Regions from separate parts of the Homo sapiens genome. Here regions 1, 3, 4 and 5 are each linked to region 2. The links are contacts of gene promoters, found by promoter capture Hi-C in human tissues and cell types (Jung and others, 2019). All regions are on one chromosome and are shown on one strand. Each heading gives the region's core, a stretch centred on a gene start or on the middle of the fragment in contact. The rest is flanking DNA. Distances are from core to core; before and after follow the strand shown. Region 1 holds the start of PRSS27 (serine protease 27). Region 2 holds the start of TRAF7 (TNF receptor associated factor 7). Region 3 holds the start of PRSS33 (serine protease 33). Region 4 holds the start of FLYWCH1 (FLYWCH-type zinc finger 1). Region 5 holds the start of TSR3 (TSR3 ribosome maturation factor).

Evidence for each region. The method cuts DNA at HindIII sites, captures the fragments that hold promoters and counts their contacts. A contact is called where the count stands out against the background at its distance.
Region 1: the fragment with the promoter of PRSS27 here is called in contact with the fragment with the promoter of TRAF7 in region 2 in 1 of the 25 tissues and cell types used here (lymphoblastoid cells).
Region 3: the fragment with the promoter of PRSS33 here is called in contact with the fragment with the promoter of TRAF7 in region 2 in 1 of the 25 tissues and cell types used here (lymphoblastoid cells).
Region 4: the fragment with the promoter of FLYWCH1 here is called in contact with the fragment with the promoter of TRAF7 in region 2 in 1 of the 25 tissues and cell types used here (spleen).
Region 5: the fragment with the promoter of TSR3 here is called in contact with the fragment with the promoter of TRAF7 in region 2 in 1 of the 25 tissues and cell types used here (spleen).

Annotation. Positions count from the first base shown.
Region 1 is chr16:2,718,915-2,721,614 of GRCh38, forward strand. PRSS27 (serine protease 27) reads right to left here and starts at 1,310. Exons shown (of 6, transcript NM_031948.5): 1 at 1,201-1,310. The coding sequence starts at 1,246. RefSeq lists an enhancer at 1,580-2,147 and a silencer at 1,881-2,640. The HindIII fragment of the contact is 19,281 bases long and covers 1-2,700 here.
Region 2 is chr16:2,154,369-2,157,068 of GRCh38, forward strand. TRAF7 (TNF receptor associated factor 7) reads left to right here and starts at 1,414. Exons shown (of 21, transcript NM_032271.3): 1 at 1,414-1,490. SNHG19 (small nucleolar RNA host gene 19) reads right to left here and starts at 990. Exons shown (of 2, transcript NR_132114.1): 1 at 775-990; 2 at 414-554. SNORD60 (small nucleolar RNA, C/D box 60) reads right to left here and starts at 737; the gene lies at 655-737. RefSeq lists enhancers at 779-978, 1,849-1,948, 1,959-2,098, 2,022-2,603, 2,604-2,700 and a silencer at 1,459-1,548. The HindIII fragment of the contact is 10,583 bases long and covers 1-2,700 here.
Region 3 is chr16:2,786,310-2,789,009 of GRCh38, forward strand. It overlaps PRSS33 (serine protease 33), which reads right to left and starts at 1,251. Exons shown (of 7, transcript NM_152891.3): 1 at 1,224-1,251; 2 at 193-295. The coding sequence starts at 238. The HindIII fragment of the contact is 27,852 bases long and covers 1-2,700 here.
Region 4 is chr16:2,910,524-2,913,223 of GRCh38, forward strand. It overlaps FLYWCH1 (FLYWCH-type zinc finger 1), which reads left to right and starts at 1,408. Exons shown (of 10, transcript NM_001308068.2): 1 at 1,408-1,631. RefSeq lists silencers at 1,159-1,218, 1,269-1,578, 1,599-1,748, 1,779-1,878, 1,852-2,041. The HindIII fragment of the contact is 21,473 bases long and covers 1-2,700 here.
Region 5 is chr16:1,350,479-1,353,178 of GRCh38, forward strand. It overlaps TSR3 (TSR3 ribosome maturation factor), which reads right to left and starts at 1,400. Exons shown (of 6, transcript NM_001001410.3): 1 at 1,215-1,400; 2 at 901-1,120; 3 at 329-522. The coding sequence starts at 1,326. It overlaps GNPTG (N-acetylglucosamine-1-phosphate transferase subunit gamma), which reads left to right and starts at 1,453. Exons shown (of 11, transcript NM_032520.5): 1 at 1,453-1,539; 2 at 1,624-1,681; 3 at 1,761-1,828. The coding sequence starts at 1,488. RefSeq lists a silencer at 978-1,677. The HindIII fragment of the contact is 21,021 bases long and covers 1-2,700 here.

The sequences.
Region 1 (2,700 bases), core at 60-2,559, 560 kb after region 2:
CAGGGTGGGCGCCCTGTGGGGGCTGGAAGCAACAGCCAGGGGTGCCGGGGGTGTCAGGAGCATTGTTTGGGGCCTGGGCCTGTGATTCGCTGGTAGCTGGTGGGGATGGTGAAGCTTAGTGGGTACCACCAGCCAGAGACCTGGTGGGAGTGCCACCCTCGGGCTGGGAGTGAGGACGTGTCCAGGAGTCCAGCCTCTGGTCACAGCTGTTAGTGAACCGACTGCAAAACTCATTGCCAAAGAGTTTTGGCAATGACCTTGGTTCCTCACCCCGCTCAGGGGCAGTCACAGCCTTCCACCTCCTGTGCACATGGCTTGCTCAGAGGGCACCATCCTTGTGCTGGGAGACTGGGGGCATGGGGTGGGGGAGGCCGGGCCACTGAGGGGCCACTGGTGCCCTCCCACCCAGGAGAACAAGGAAGCCTGGAGTACTGGCTAAGCTGCAGCCTGGGATGACCTGACCCAGCCCTGGGAGGTGACTTGAGGACAGGGAAGTGTGGTGGCTGCCAGACTGGCTAGGCTAGCCCAGGAATGTGAGAGGTTTTCCCTGACAGAGAGTGTCCCGGCCCGCAGGGAGGGGCCTGGCAGGTGGGGCCCCCTGGCTGGCACCTGCTGTCCCTGACCCAGGACTGGGAGAGGGCACGGTGGCGCATCACCGGTTCCTCTGTCAGCAGGAGACAGGGCCCTCTGCCACCTACACCCCCTGCCCCCAGCTCTCTACTGAGCCTGCAGCCAGCCTGCTGGGGCTTCCGGGCACAGGCAGCAGCCCTCGGCTCGGCCACCCTCCCACCCCGAGTATGATGGTCCAGGCACTTGGAGCCTGAGTTCACATCCTGCACGTAGGAGGCCCCTGTCCTCACCTAGAGAATGGGGGGAGAGGCCGAGGTGGCAGGAAGCAGGGAGCCTGGCCAGAGCTGGCACACCAGTGCCCGCGGAGAGGCATGGGAGGAGGTGCTGCCCAGTTATGCCGGTGGGGTCCTCTGGGGCCTGTGCGCACACCTCCCACCCTGCCTCCCCACTTTGGACTCCCCACTTGGCACATCTGGAGCCTTCCCACCTGCTCAGGGGCAGGAGGGATGATGGCCTGTCCCACAGCCCCAGCCTGTCCCAGGGAGTAGGGGGCTGAGCCGGAGCCCCAGGCAGTGCAGCGGAGCCTGGTGGGGGACTGCACCACCAGGACCCTGCACCTTCACGACTCACCAAAACACAGCAGCAGCAGGAGCGGCACCGCCGCCGGCCGCCTCATGTCCTCAGGCCTGGCTGGGGCGCAGGGCCGTGGTCGGCGGTGGCAGAAGCGTTGGAGCACGAGCGAGGTGCAGGCTCCATGAAGTGGAGTTTTATGCTGGAGATGAGCACAGGCCCGGCTATGCGGCCCAACCCGTCGGCCCGGCCTGCCCAGCTCCTCTCCTCAGGAAGGAAGCGCCCAGAGCCGACTCCTCCGTGACCTAGCCCTGAACCCCGAGACCCCAGGGCAGACCCCTCACCCCAGCGCAGCACGGGGTGCCGTTGGCCTCGGTTCCTGGACCCTGAGCTGACCCAGACCCCCCAGCAGACCCCGAGCTGACCGCGGTGCACGCGAAGTCCGTCCAGCTTCATTCATTATTATTATTATTATTTTTTTTAATTTTTTGAGACAGAGTCTCGCTCTGTCGCCCAGGCTGGAGCGCAATCTCGGCTCACTGCAAGCTCCGTCTCCCAGGTTCAAGCCATTCTCCTGCCTCAGCCTCCTGAGTAGCTGGGATTACAGGCAGGTGCCACCACGCCCGGCTAATTTTTTGTATTTTTAGTAGAGACGGGGTTTAACCGTGTTGGCCAGGCTAGTCTCGATCTCCTGACCTCGTGATCCGCCCTCCTCGGCCTCCCAAAGCGCTGGGATTACAGGGGTGAGCCACCGCGCCCGGCCTCATTCAGTATTTTATTGAGCGCCGATGGAACACAGTGGGGCTGGGCCGCGCTGGTGGGAAAGTCAAGGCCAGGGGTGTTTGCGGGGCCGAGGGCAGGGGAGGCGATGGGACATGGGGCGGGGTCCGGAGTTGGCCGCAGCGACCCTCCTCCCGGGACAGCAGGCCCCAGAAGTTCCTCAGGCGCGCGCCAGCGCGGCCCAGGCGGCCGACCCGGGCCCCGGCTGCCATCCCTTGGAAGGGGCGGGGGCTTCCTGGCACCAGGCGGGGCGGAAGCGGCTCCGGGAAGGCCGGGCCGGGGTTACCGTTTCGGTGTCCCCGCCTGGCTCTGGGCGCGGCGCCGCGGCGGAAGAGGCTCGGGGAGGAAGTTATTTGGGGCACGGCGCTGACGTCAGAGACAGAGTGGGGCCGGGCCGTGGGGTCGGGGGCGCCGGACCTGTTTCCCCGCCGGCGCCGGGGGTCGGTACTCGCGGGCGGGGCGGGGCCGGGCGGCTCCGGGCGGGGCTGGGGGTGCGGCCGTTCCCGCCTCAGCCTTGTCCGCGCGCGTCGTGGTGCTGCCCTCTGGTGGGCGCGGGGCGCGGCGCGGGCGGCCAGGGGTGCAGAAGGGGCGCTCCCAGCCTCATGGTCCGGGCTCCGGCTCCCCGCATCGCCCTCCCTAGCCCCGCCCTCCCGCGTCTCCGCCTCCGCCTCCACCGCCTCCTCCCACCCTTCCCTCCCCGTCCAGTCCCTGGAGTTCCCGGGTCGGGGGTGGGAGGCGGGCTGGGCAGCCCCTGGGGGTCTGGAGGGAAGGAGGGAGGGC
Region 2 (2,700 bases), core at 164-2,663:
ATTTGACTGGGCGTGGTGGCTCACACCTGTGATCCCAGCACTTTGGGAGGCTGAGGTGGGCAGATCACCTGAGGTCAGGAGTTTGAGACCAGCCTAACACGGAGAAACCCCGTCTCTACTAAAAATACAAAATTAGCCGGGCGTGGTGGTGGGCGCCTGTAATTCCAGCCATTTGGGAGGCTCAGGCAGGAAAATCGCTTGAGGTGGAGGTTGTGCCATCGCACTCCCGCCTGGGAAACGAGCAAAACTCCGTCTCAAAAAAAAAAAAAAAAAATCACGGGCAGAAATGGAGAAGGCAATCCCAAGAGATGAAAAGTCACTGGTAACGAGCTTCCGTTTTCATGTCTGTACCCTTTTCCAAGATTGCCTGTGGATCAGCCAGACCTCTGGGGTGCCAGAATAGGAAAATAAAGACACTTGAGAGAAAACCGAATCAACTCACTACCTTTCTTTATTGCTAAGCACTTCAATAGACACAGCGCCCACCTTACCGCTAGGCCCTCCGGATTGAGGTTTACTTAGGTTCAAAACTTGCAGCCGGCTCGCGACGAAACCTGAAAGTCAGCGCCAAAATACAGACATTAAGTCCCCACTCCTTCGTTTCGGGCAACACCTGTTTCCACTCTCAGCTCCCCGTCAGGAGTGCGCACCCTCAAGCCTCAGTCTTGCTAAATAATCAGACTGCACGTGCAGTTTTCATACGAGGTGTCAGAAGTCAAAGCAATTCATCACAGACTGGGAGAATAAGGGAACCCAAGCCCGGCCCAGTCTTACCTGCAGGTAGCTGAGGGCCTGAGATTCGGGAAGAAACCTTTAAACGCTAAGGGACAAAGTGGTGCGTAGGCCAGGCCTGGACGCCCAGGGACCTGGCCGGCCTGCAGCGTTCGGACGGCCCTCAAAGCCACGCTCGTGGCTCAGTTCGTCCCAAGATCGTAGCACATGGCGAACGTATTAACAAACCTCTTCCCCCTCGGACTCGACCCCGAAAAGACAGGGGCGGGCGAGGCTCAAGCTTTTATAGAAACTGTCCCACCTCTGTCATTGGGCTATCCTGGCGGAAGTGCCCGCCTTCCCCCGCCGCTGGTACGCTCCGCTCCCTGCCGCGTTGTTTCCACCAATCGTACCGTGGCATTTCTTTTGGAGACGGTCTCTCAGACCCAGACCCGAAGCTCCTCCCTTATGCAGAGTCCGTGAAGCCTAACGGTGAGTGACGGATGAACAAAGCCAATCAGACTTCGATCTGCAACATAGAGTGATTCTGAAGCTGCCATTCCCGCCCCGCGACGACGAGGCCGCCGGAAGTCGTAGTTTCGGAAGTGCGGCGCGTGAGGCAGCCGTCCGGGCCCGGAGAGGCGGGGAACTACACGTCCCGGCGGGCGCAGCGGCCTGGCGCTTCCGGCTCGCGCGTCTAGTCCCTTTCCCGGCCGGCGGCCGAGGGGGCATCATGAAGCGGGCTGGCGGCGCTGCCGCTCCCGGGCGGCCGCGGGCGGGTGAGTGTCCCCGCGGCGCGCCCGACCCGGGGCTCGCGCCTCGGGACCGCGCGGTGGGGCGGGATCGGGCGCGTGGAGATCGAGGCGAGGCGAGGCGAGGCGAGGGGTCGGGCCGGGGCGGGGAGGGGGGGGCGGGGCTGAGACGGTCGGGGTCGGGGTCAGGGTCGGGGTCCGCGTCGCTGTCCGTCCGCCAGTCAGTAGTCCGTCCCTCGCTCCGTCCTGTTCTCGCGCAGTTCTTTACTCATTCCTTCTTCCTGCATTCCCCGAGACTCCCGGGTGCCAGGCACTGTTCTGGGCGCCGGGAGACCGCGGAGAACACGGTCCCAGTTCTCCTGTGCTCGGCGTCTGCTGCAGGGTTCCCCAACCTCCGCACCATCGACCACGCGGCCCGGGTCGCTTTTTGCTGCGAGGAGCTGCCCTGTACATTGTAGGATGTGGAACAGCTTGCCTGGCTCCTGGCCGCTAGATACCAGTAAACACCACCCCTTCCTCAATTGCGATAACAAATGTCTCCATGCATTGGCAAATGCCTCCTGCGGAACAACTCCCCCCATCCCCCATCTAGACAGACAGGGTGGTGGGATTGACAATAGGTAGTTAAAATCATGGGGAGCAGCGGTATGTGCTGTGAAAGAAAGAAAGAGGGTGCTGAAAAAGTGAGTACTGGCCGGGGGTAGGGGCGGCGCTACCGTTAGCCAAAGGCCTGTTGGAGAAGCAGCCAGTCCCAGGACATGCAGGAGGAGCATTCCAAGTAGAAAGAGCCAGATGTACATAGGCCTGGGGTGAGAAGGGGCCTGACGCACCCCAGCAAGCACTGGCAAGTGGAGAGGTGAAGTCGATGAGGCCGGACCAGGCTCACAGGGTGCATGGTGGGGTGGGGCGGGGGGGTTATTATGCTGGCAAATGACTTGGGGTTGAGGAAGCGCTGGAGAGGCGGTCCGATCTAGGTCCAGTAAAGAGCTTTCTAACTGTGTGTGGACCACAGACTTCAGAGTTCACTGGGGAAGCAGGAGAGAGGGAGGCTAGGCCATCGTCTCCTAGTCCCCACTGGGGTCCTGCTGTCAAGATACGGTTGTCTTGAGCCAGGCCAGAGTGGTCAGCTGGGGTTGAGTCTGGAGTCCAGGGGCAGGGGCCTGCTGGAGCCCACCCTGCTCTTGGGGGTGAGGGGCTGCTGGCTTGCTCAGGAATTTCATGCCGCCCAGCCTGTCTG
Region 3 (2,700 bases), core at 1-2,500, 630 kb after region 2:
ATGAGCATGACACCGACAAGCACATCGAGGTGTGGTGAGGTCAAGGTCAGTGGCAGAGAGGATTGAGCCCTTGGAATCAAGATTAGAAAGCCCAAGAGTGCTCCAGGGAGCCCGGCCCAGGGAGCAGTGAGATGGGAGAACTGGGAGCCAAGGTGTCTGCGGCCCTCACCCCCAGTCCCTGTCCCCACTCACCCAGCACCAGAAGGAGCAGGACCTGGAGACAGGAAACCCCTCTCATTCTGTCTTCAAGGCTGGGCTGGGTAAGGGTGGCACTGCCTAGGGCTTGGACTCTGGTCTGGAGCCAGCAGGGAGAAGAGAGGAGAGTCCTGGCCCAGGGGCACCAATCCTCACACCAGCCCGTCACCCCCTCCGTGGTCCTTCTGTCTGTCCTCAGCTCCTGGTGGGTTCTGGACTTATCCTGGTGGCCCAGGCTGTATACCCTTCGTTCTGCCCAGGGCCCAGGTATGCAGCACCCACCACCCAGATATTTGGGCATCCTTGGTCTCGACAGAAGCCCTGGAGCCTAACCCCCCTCGGTCATCCTCACTCCCTCCCTCATCCCCCTCCCCCATCCTCACCCCCTCCCTCATCCTCACCCCCTCCCTCATCCTCACTCCCTCCTCCATCCTCACCCCCCTCCTCCTCACTCCCCTCCCTTATCCTCACCCCTTCCCTCATCCTCATCCCTCTCTCATCCTCACCCCCTCCCTCATCCTCACCTCCTCCTCTATCCTCACCCCGTCCTCCATCGTCACCCCTGCTCCTCCTCACTCCCCTCCCTCATCCTCACCCCCTCCCTCATCCTCACCTCTCATCCTCACCCCTCTCTCATCCTCACCCCTCCCTCATCCTCACCCCTCCTCTATCCTCACCCCCTCCTCCATCCTCAGCCCCCTCCTCCTCACTCCCCTCCCTCATCCTCACCCCCTCCCTCATCCTCACCCCTGTCTCATCCTCACCCCCTCCCTCATCCTTCACCCCCTCCCTCATCCTCACTCCTCTCTCATCACCCCTCCTCCATCCTTCACCCCCCCATCGTCACCCCCTCCCTCATCCTCACCCCCTCCTCTATCCTCACCCCCTTCCTCCTCACTCCCCTCCCTCATCTTCACCACTTCCCTCATCCTCACCCCCTCCCCCATCCTTCACCCCTCCTCGTCCTCACCCTCATCCTCACCCACTGGCTGCCCCTGCAGCCCCCACAGCCCCTGGCTTGCTCTCACCCTCACAGCCTGGCGCCTTCTGCTGACTGGGGTTGAGGGAGGGCCTGGGGGCTTAAAGTGCCAGGAGAGCGCGAGGCTCAGCCAAGGAGTAATGAACAGGGCCGGGGCGGGGCTGTGGCTTTACCGGACCAGCCTCAAACAAAGATGCTTTGAGCAGAGCTTCAGAGGTGGCAGGAAAGGGTCAATGGGTTTCTCAAAGGAAGCCTGCCTTGCGCCAAGGTACTAGAAGTGGGGGCTGGCGGAGAGCAGTGGTGCGGGTAGGTGCTGGGAGGGGTGGCAGTCAGGTGGGGAAGCTCTGCAGGATCCGGGGCAACTCCTCTCCAAACCTGACCTGGGCTCCCTGCAGAGCACACGTTGCTGGAGCTTCTGCGCTCCATTGTTCTGTCCAGAAATCCCATCTCAGACGGAAGTCCTGGCCAGACAGCTCCACCCAGAGACCCCAGCATGGCCAGCCCCCTTCCAGATCCGGGGTCTGGAGCAGCTGGAGGTGGAAAGGGACTGGTTCAAAGTTGGTGGCACTCCTTACTTGACCAGAGGCAGGGGGAGACTTGACCTTGGGGACCAGTGCAGTCTTTGGTTTGGGGTGGCCGAGACAGAGCAAGATGCTGGGGTCAGGGGACAGGAACTCCCCTTCTCTCGAGGCCCGTGGAGGACCGGGGCCCGGATGGTCCAGGGCCCTGTAGTTCCCTCTTGGGCTCATACACAGTGTTCGCTGCCTAGAAGTCTCTCAAGTCCCTCTCTGCATAGTGAACTCCTCTTATCCCTCAGCCTTCTGCTCTGCCACCTCCTCCTGCCTCCTTTGCAGCCCTGCCATAGTTGTACTTTTTTCCTTTTTTTTTTTTTTGTTTTTCTTTCTTTTTTTTTTTAAAGAGACAGGGTCTTGGCCAAGCATGGTGGCTCATGCCTGTAATCCCTGCATTTTGGGAAGCCGAGATGGGTGGCTCATTTGAGGTCAGGGGTTTGAGACGAGCCTGGCCAACATGGTGAAACCTCGTCTCTACTAAAAATACAAAAATTAGCCAGGCCTGATGGTGGGCGCCTGCAATCTCAGCTACTCGGGAGGCTGAGGCACAGGAATTGCTTGAACCCGGGAGGTGGAAGTTGCAGTGAGCCGAGATTATGCCACTGCACTCCAGCCTGGGCGACGCAGTGAGATTCTGTCTCAAAAAAAAATAAAAAGGGAGAGAGAGACAGGGTCTTGCTCTGTCACCCAGGCTGGAGTGCAGTGGTACAATCACAACTCCCTGCGTCCTTGACCTCTGGGCTCAAGTGATCCTGCCACCTCAGCTTCCCAAGTAGTTGGGACCACAGGTGCATGCCACAGCACCTAGCAATTTTTTTTTCCAGAGATGGGGTCTTGCAATGATGCCCAACTTGTTCTCGAACTCCTGGGCTCAAGAGATCCTCTTGCTGTAGTCTCCCAAAGTGCTGGGGTTATAGGCATGTGCCACCGAGGCCAGCCCATAGTTGTCCTTTG
Region 4 (2,700 bases), core at 158-2,657, 760 kb after region 2:
TACAAGCAAGAGTCACTGTACCCGGCCAACATGGATGAACTTTGAAAGTGCTATGCTAAGGCTAGGCGAAAGAAGTCAGTCACAAGAGACCACATATTTGTTGCATGATTTCATTTATATGAAATATGCAGAATACGCAAATCTATAAAGACAGAAAATAGATCATATTACTTAGGGCTGGGGTGATTAGCAAATTGGAGGGTGGTGGCTAAAGGTTTCTTCTTGGAGTGATGAAAGGTTTTAAAACTGACTATGGTGCTGTTTGCACAACTCTCTGACTATACTACATATCATTTAATTGTACACTTTAAATGGGAGAAATGCATGGTATGTGAATTATATTTCAATAAAGATCTTACCAAAAAATAGTAAGCTGATTGTGTTAACATAGTTTTATGAAAAAGTACAATATTTTCCCAAAGAAATTTAGTGAGACGAGTGACATAGTTATACATTTTTGCAAATATCTTTGTTGCGGGCTTAAAAGAAGACTACTGGCTCTCATACCTGCTTCTACATTCAATGTGTTACATCACACGTCATGCAGACTTTGTAATACTATGTAATATTTCTGCTTTTTTTTTTTTAGACACAGTCTCACTCTGTCGCCCAGGCTGGAGTGCAGTGGCGCCGTCTCGGCTCACTGCAACCTCCGCCTCCCGGGTTCAAGTTATTCTCCTGCCTCAGCCTCCCGAGTAGCTGGGATTACAGGCGCCCAGTACCACGCCCGACTAATGTTCGTATTTTTAGTAGAAACGGGGTTTCACCATGTTGGCCACGCTGTTCTCGAACTCCTGACCTCAGGTGATCCACCCGCCTCGGCCTCCCAAAGTGCTGGGATTACAGGCGTGAGCCACCGCGCCCGGCCCAGGTATTTTTTTGTCGTTGTTGGCTTTCTGATGTAAGAAACAACTGTCCCTTCTCCCCCGTTGACTTATTTCCTTCAGTTTGGACTCATATCGTAGTCAAGGTTATAATCCGTTGCTATCGCTGTTTATTTGAATCTCACACTGGTTCCGCTCTGGGGTAGGGTCACTGGGGGCGTCAATGAGATGCATGAGAATCGCCTTCCCACGGGGTCAGGAAACTGACAGGCCCAAGAGTGCATCTCAGCAAACGCTCCGTTTCCTGCGGGCAGCCTCAGATACTGGGGACCGTCCTGGGGTCTCAATTAAGCGCCCCCTACCCCAGCCCCTTTACGCCAAGAGCGTCCTGTTCAGCTCCCCCATCCTAGCTCCGCCCCTGGACGCCGCCGTCCAATCTCGGGATGGCCCCGCCTTTTCCGTGAGTTACGTCCCCGCCCCCATGCGCTGACAGGCCAGGCCTGCGGCTCGGCGCCGCGCAGGGAAGACCCGGAGCAGCGGTTTACCTAAGGAACGGGCCGCGCGGTCTTGCTGCGCATGCTCTGAAGTAGCGCGCCTGAGCGTTCCGCAAGGCCGGCTCCCCGGCGGGGTCGCGCGCGCGGTCACGGGGCTCGCTCCCGAGGGGCAGGTCGGGGCTGGGAGCTGGTGCCCGGGTCGGGGTGGCGGCGGCGGCCTGGGTCGCGGGGTCGACGCTCGCTGCTGCAGCGGCAGAGGCTGAAGGATCCGCCGCGGCGCTGTCGCGGGAGAGGGAGGGCCCCGCTGCCGTCGGTGAGGACAGGCCCCTGCGGGCGGGGAATGTCCCGCGTCCCCGGCGTGGACGCGCCCGCAGCCCGGCTCTCCCGGGGGTCCCGAGGGTTGCGGGTGCTGGGGAGGGGTCTGCGTCCCGGCGCTCAGGCCGCCTCCTGTGGGGTCTCCCGCGATTCCCTCCTTGCTCCTCGCCCCTCCATCCCCACCCCCCCGTCCCCTGGCCTAAGCCCGACACCCCCACATCAAGGATCCCCGCACTCGTCCGCCGTTTCCTGGCGGTGTCTGCCCCGCCCAGCGCTGCCTTCCTGGACCCGCAGCATCAGCCCCGTCCCACGGTTGCAGCTCGGGCGGTCCCAGTGACCTTGCACTTTTGCGGGTCGGGACGCACCCCGCTCCCGCTTCTGACCCTATAGATCTCCGGTGACGGCTTTCGAACTTTGTTGACCCACAGCCGACACTGAGAAATGCCTTTTACGCGTGTACTCTGTGCCTGTGGGTCTGGATGACTGAAGCACAAGTTTAAAGGGAGACGCTTGTTTAAGCTCACATGACGCAGCTGGATCTGTTCGGATTAAATTCCGTTCCATTCTCTTCCACCCCGTTCCAAAAGGCTGCTGCTAACCCATGGAGCCTGCACATAACGGGTCTGACGTAGTTGAAACCCTCGCTCTAAACCCTGCCTGTTGTTCCTTTATTCCTTGTACTGGAAGCTGAACTCCCATAGTCAGATAATCATGTGCAAACTCCAATTCCAACGAAATGGCTTATTTTTATTTGCATATTTCTGCTTTCCAAGGGCCAATATGATTTCCAGGGCTTGATCTAGATTTTCTCGTGTGATTATATCATGTTTCTCTTGTTCCTTTCCCAAGTGCTACTGGCGGGACGTGTGGAAGGAACAAGGCTGAGGTTGGGGCTAGATTGCGGAGTGTTTATGACGCCCAGCTGATGATGCACTAAGGCTGGAGATGGAGATGATTTAATTGGGGAGAGACATGCTGAAAGTTAAGCTTTAGGAAGAGTGACCTGTCAGCACCCTATGTGGAGAATTGGAGTGGCTGCTTGCCAAAGCTGGCAAGATCGTTCAGAG
Region 5 (2,700 bases), core at 150-2,649, 800 kb before region 2:
CACGCCTCATCAGGGCCTCTTTAGATCAGCAATTCAGTAAGGAGGACGTGGAGGATAAGGAGGATTCTCTGGGCAGTGGTGCCCTGATAATGAATGGCACCCCACACACCGGCCCTGATAGAACAGCGATCCCATTCTGCCTCTACTGCAACTCCACAGGCCGAAAACCTGAAGTGACAGTTGGGGCTGGAACCGTGGTCTGTCTGAACTGTTCCCCTGTCCGTCCCTTATGCTCCTCCTGGGGTCTGTCGGCAGGAAACATGATGCTGGGAGCATAGCAGGAACAGCAGGCCGCCGGGTCACACTGCTGTGGGGCCCCTGGACTCACCTACGATGCAGAAGGTGGCAGCAAACGCTTCCACGCAGGAAAGTCTGTAGGGCCGGCCATAGTTCACGGGGTTGGCGGCCACCAGGTAGGGCAACAGGCGCAAGTGGCTCCCTCGCATCTTCCCAAACGGTGTCTCGTCCAGCCTGGCCCAGGAGCAGTCGATGACGGCGACCCCAGACTGCGCCACCAGCTGTCTGCCAGGGACAGCATGGGATAAGTTCAGGAGCCAGCACTACCCAAGGTGGAGCATGCCCCGGAGAATGGCCTAGCTAAGGGATTCAGGGACATCATTCCGCCATCCCCAAACACCCTCAAACGGACTTCACGAGCAAGCTTTTGAGGCAGCTGCTTGGGGCACCTGGAGCATGTGTTTATTCACTCAACAAACGTTTATTACCCCAAAACCTCCTTTATCCCAGGCTCTGCGCTACGCAACGGAGGCAAACTAGACAGACGTTCCCTGCCCACGTGGGTGTGGATGTGGGTGCGACATACAAGTGCCACTAAACCATCCCTGAAGGGAACCACGCGCTGGAAATGAAGACGACCTCGGGCAGGCCTCCCGCGCCTACCTGTCTGCGGGGGACGCGTACTGCTTGCCCACGGGGCTCAGCACCAGACCGCCGAATCTGTGGCCCAGGCGCAGGCAGCGCACCAGCCCCAGGCGGGCCAGCTTGCGGCCCGTGCAGCGCCGGGGGTCGCAGTGGCCCAACTCCCACATGGCCAGCGTGCAGGGCAGCGCCGCCGGGCCCGGGCCGCCCTCGCCGTCAGCCGCCCCTGGCTCCACGGAAGCTGCACGAGAGAGAGAAGGGCACTCGGCCTCAGCGTGGGACCCCCGGGCAGGCCCTCAAACCCTGACCCGCTCTCCCCATCACGCCTCGCTCACCCTGCAGCGCGGCGCCGACCTCCTCGGCGAAGGCCTCCAGGGAGCGCGTCGGGAGGTGCCGAGGGCGGCCGCCTTCCGCCCCCGGCCCGCGCGCTGCCCTCCTGCGGCCCATGGCGCGGACCTGGGGTGCCGGGGACTCCCCACCCCACGGCCGCGCCCCTCGGCCTCCCAATGGGCTGTGCGGCTGCCAGCGCTTGCGCCGGACGCCACTTCCGGTCCCCGTGGTCACGTGACCGTCACTTCACGTGACCGCGCGGCGGCCGCTGCGGCGCGATGGCGGCGGGGCTGGCGCGGCTCCTGTTGCTCCTCGGGCTCTCGGCCGGCGGTGAGTGGCCCGGCCGTCCGCGTCCCCAGGCCCCGCGCGCGCTCTGCACCCCGGCCTCCCCGCTCACGGTCTCGCTCCCCGTAGGGCCCGCGCCGGCAGGTGCAGCGAAGATGAAGGTGGTGGAGGAGCCCAACGCGTTTGGGTGAGCAGCCTCGCGGGCTGGCGGCTCGAGCGGGGGACGGCCCGGGCCCGTTCCCCGCTGACCTTGCCGCTTCCCGTAGGGTGAACAACCCGTTCTTGCCTCAGGCCAGTCGCCTCCAGGCCAAGAGGGATCCTTCACCCGTGTCTGGTGAGTGAGGAGCGCTGTTGGCCGGCGCGGGGGTGGCCGCGGGGAGCAGCAACAGTGGAGGATGGATGAGTGACCCTGAGAGTTACGGCCCGGAGTCTAAAGCATTGGTTTGTCAGCCTTCTAAAATTAATGTGGAAGTACGAGAGAATATACCAGAACGTTCTTGTAGCGAATTAAATTATCTCCAGACTTAGTCCTTCCTTTCCTTTCCGAGAGGTAACTGCTGTTAATAGTCTGGTGACTTTGCAGACGCGTTTCTGTGCTTTTACGTGCGTGTCTATGCAACTGGAAAACGTATAGTTTTTGTAATCTAATCGCTTTTTTAAAAAATCATGCTGCGCGAGTATTTGGCTGATTTGTCGTTGTCACTCGCTGTATCTCTCGGGACGCTTCATGGTGATGATATAGGTCTTCGTTCTTTCTCTTGGTGCTCAGCACGCGATAGGATGGCACTGCACTCCCCGATTGTATTTAGGTTCTTGCCATTTTTTTGGCCATTAGAAATAGTTCTGTGGAGAACATGCTGTGTAGGTGCTTTGGTTTGCCCTCAGGTGAGCGGTTTCCCAGTGCAGGATTCCAGAAGTGGAATTGGTGGGTCATGAGTATATATATCATTTAAACGCTGAATGAGTATTAAATATAATAGACAAAAATCCAAGAATTTTTTTTTTTTTTTTTTTGAGACAAGAGTCTCGCTCTGTCGCCCAGGCTGGAGTGCAGTGGCACGATCTCGGCTCACTGCAACCTCCGCCTCCCAGGTTCAAGCGATCCTCATGCCTCAGCCTCCCGAGTAGCTGGGATCACAGGCATGCATCACCATCACGCCCAGCAAATTTTTGTATTTTTAGTAGAGATAGGGTTTATTTCACCGT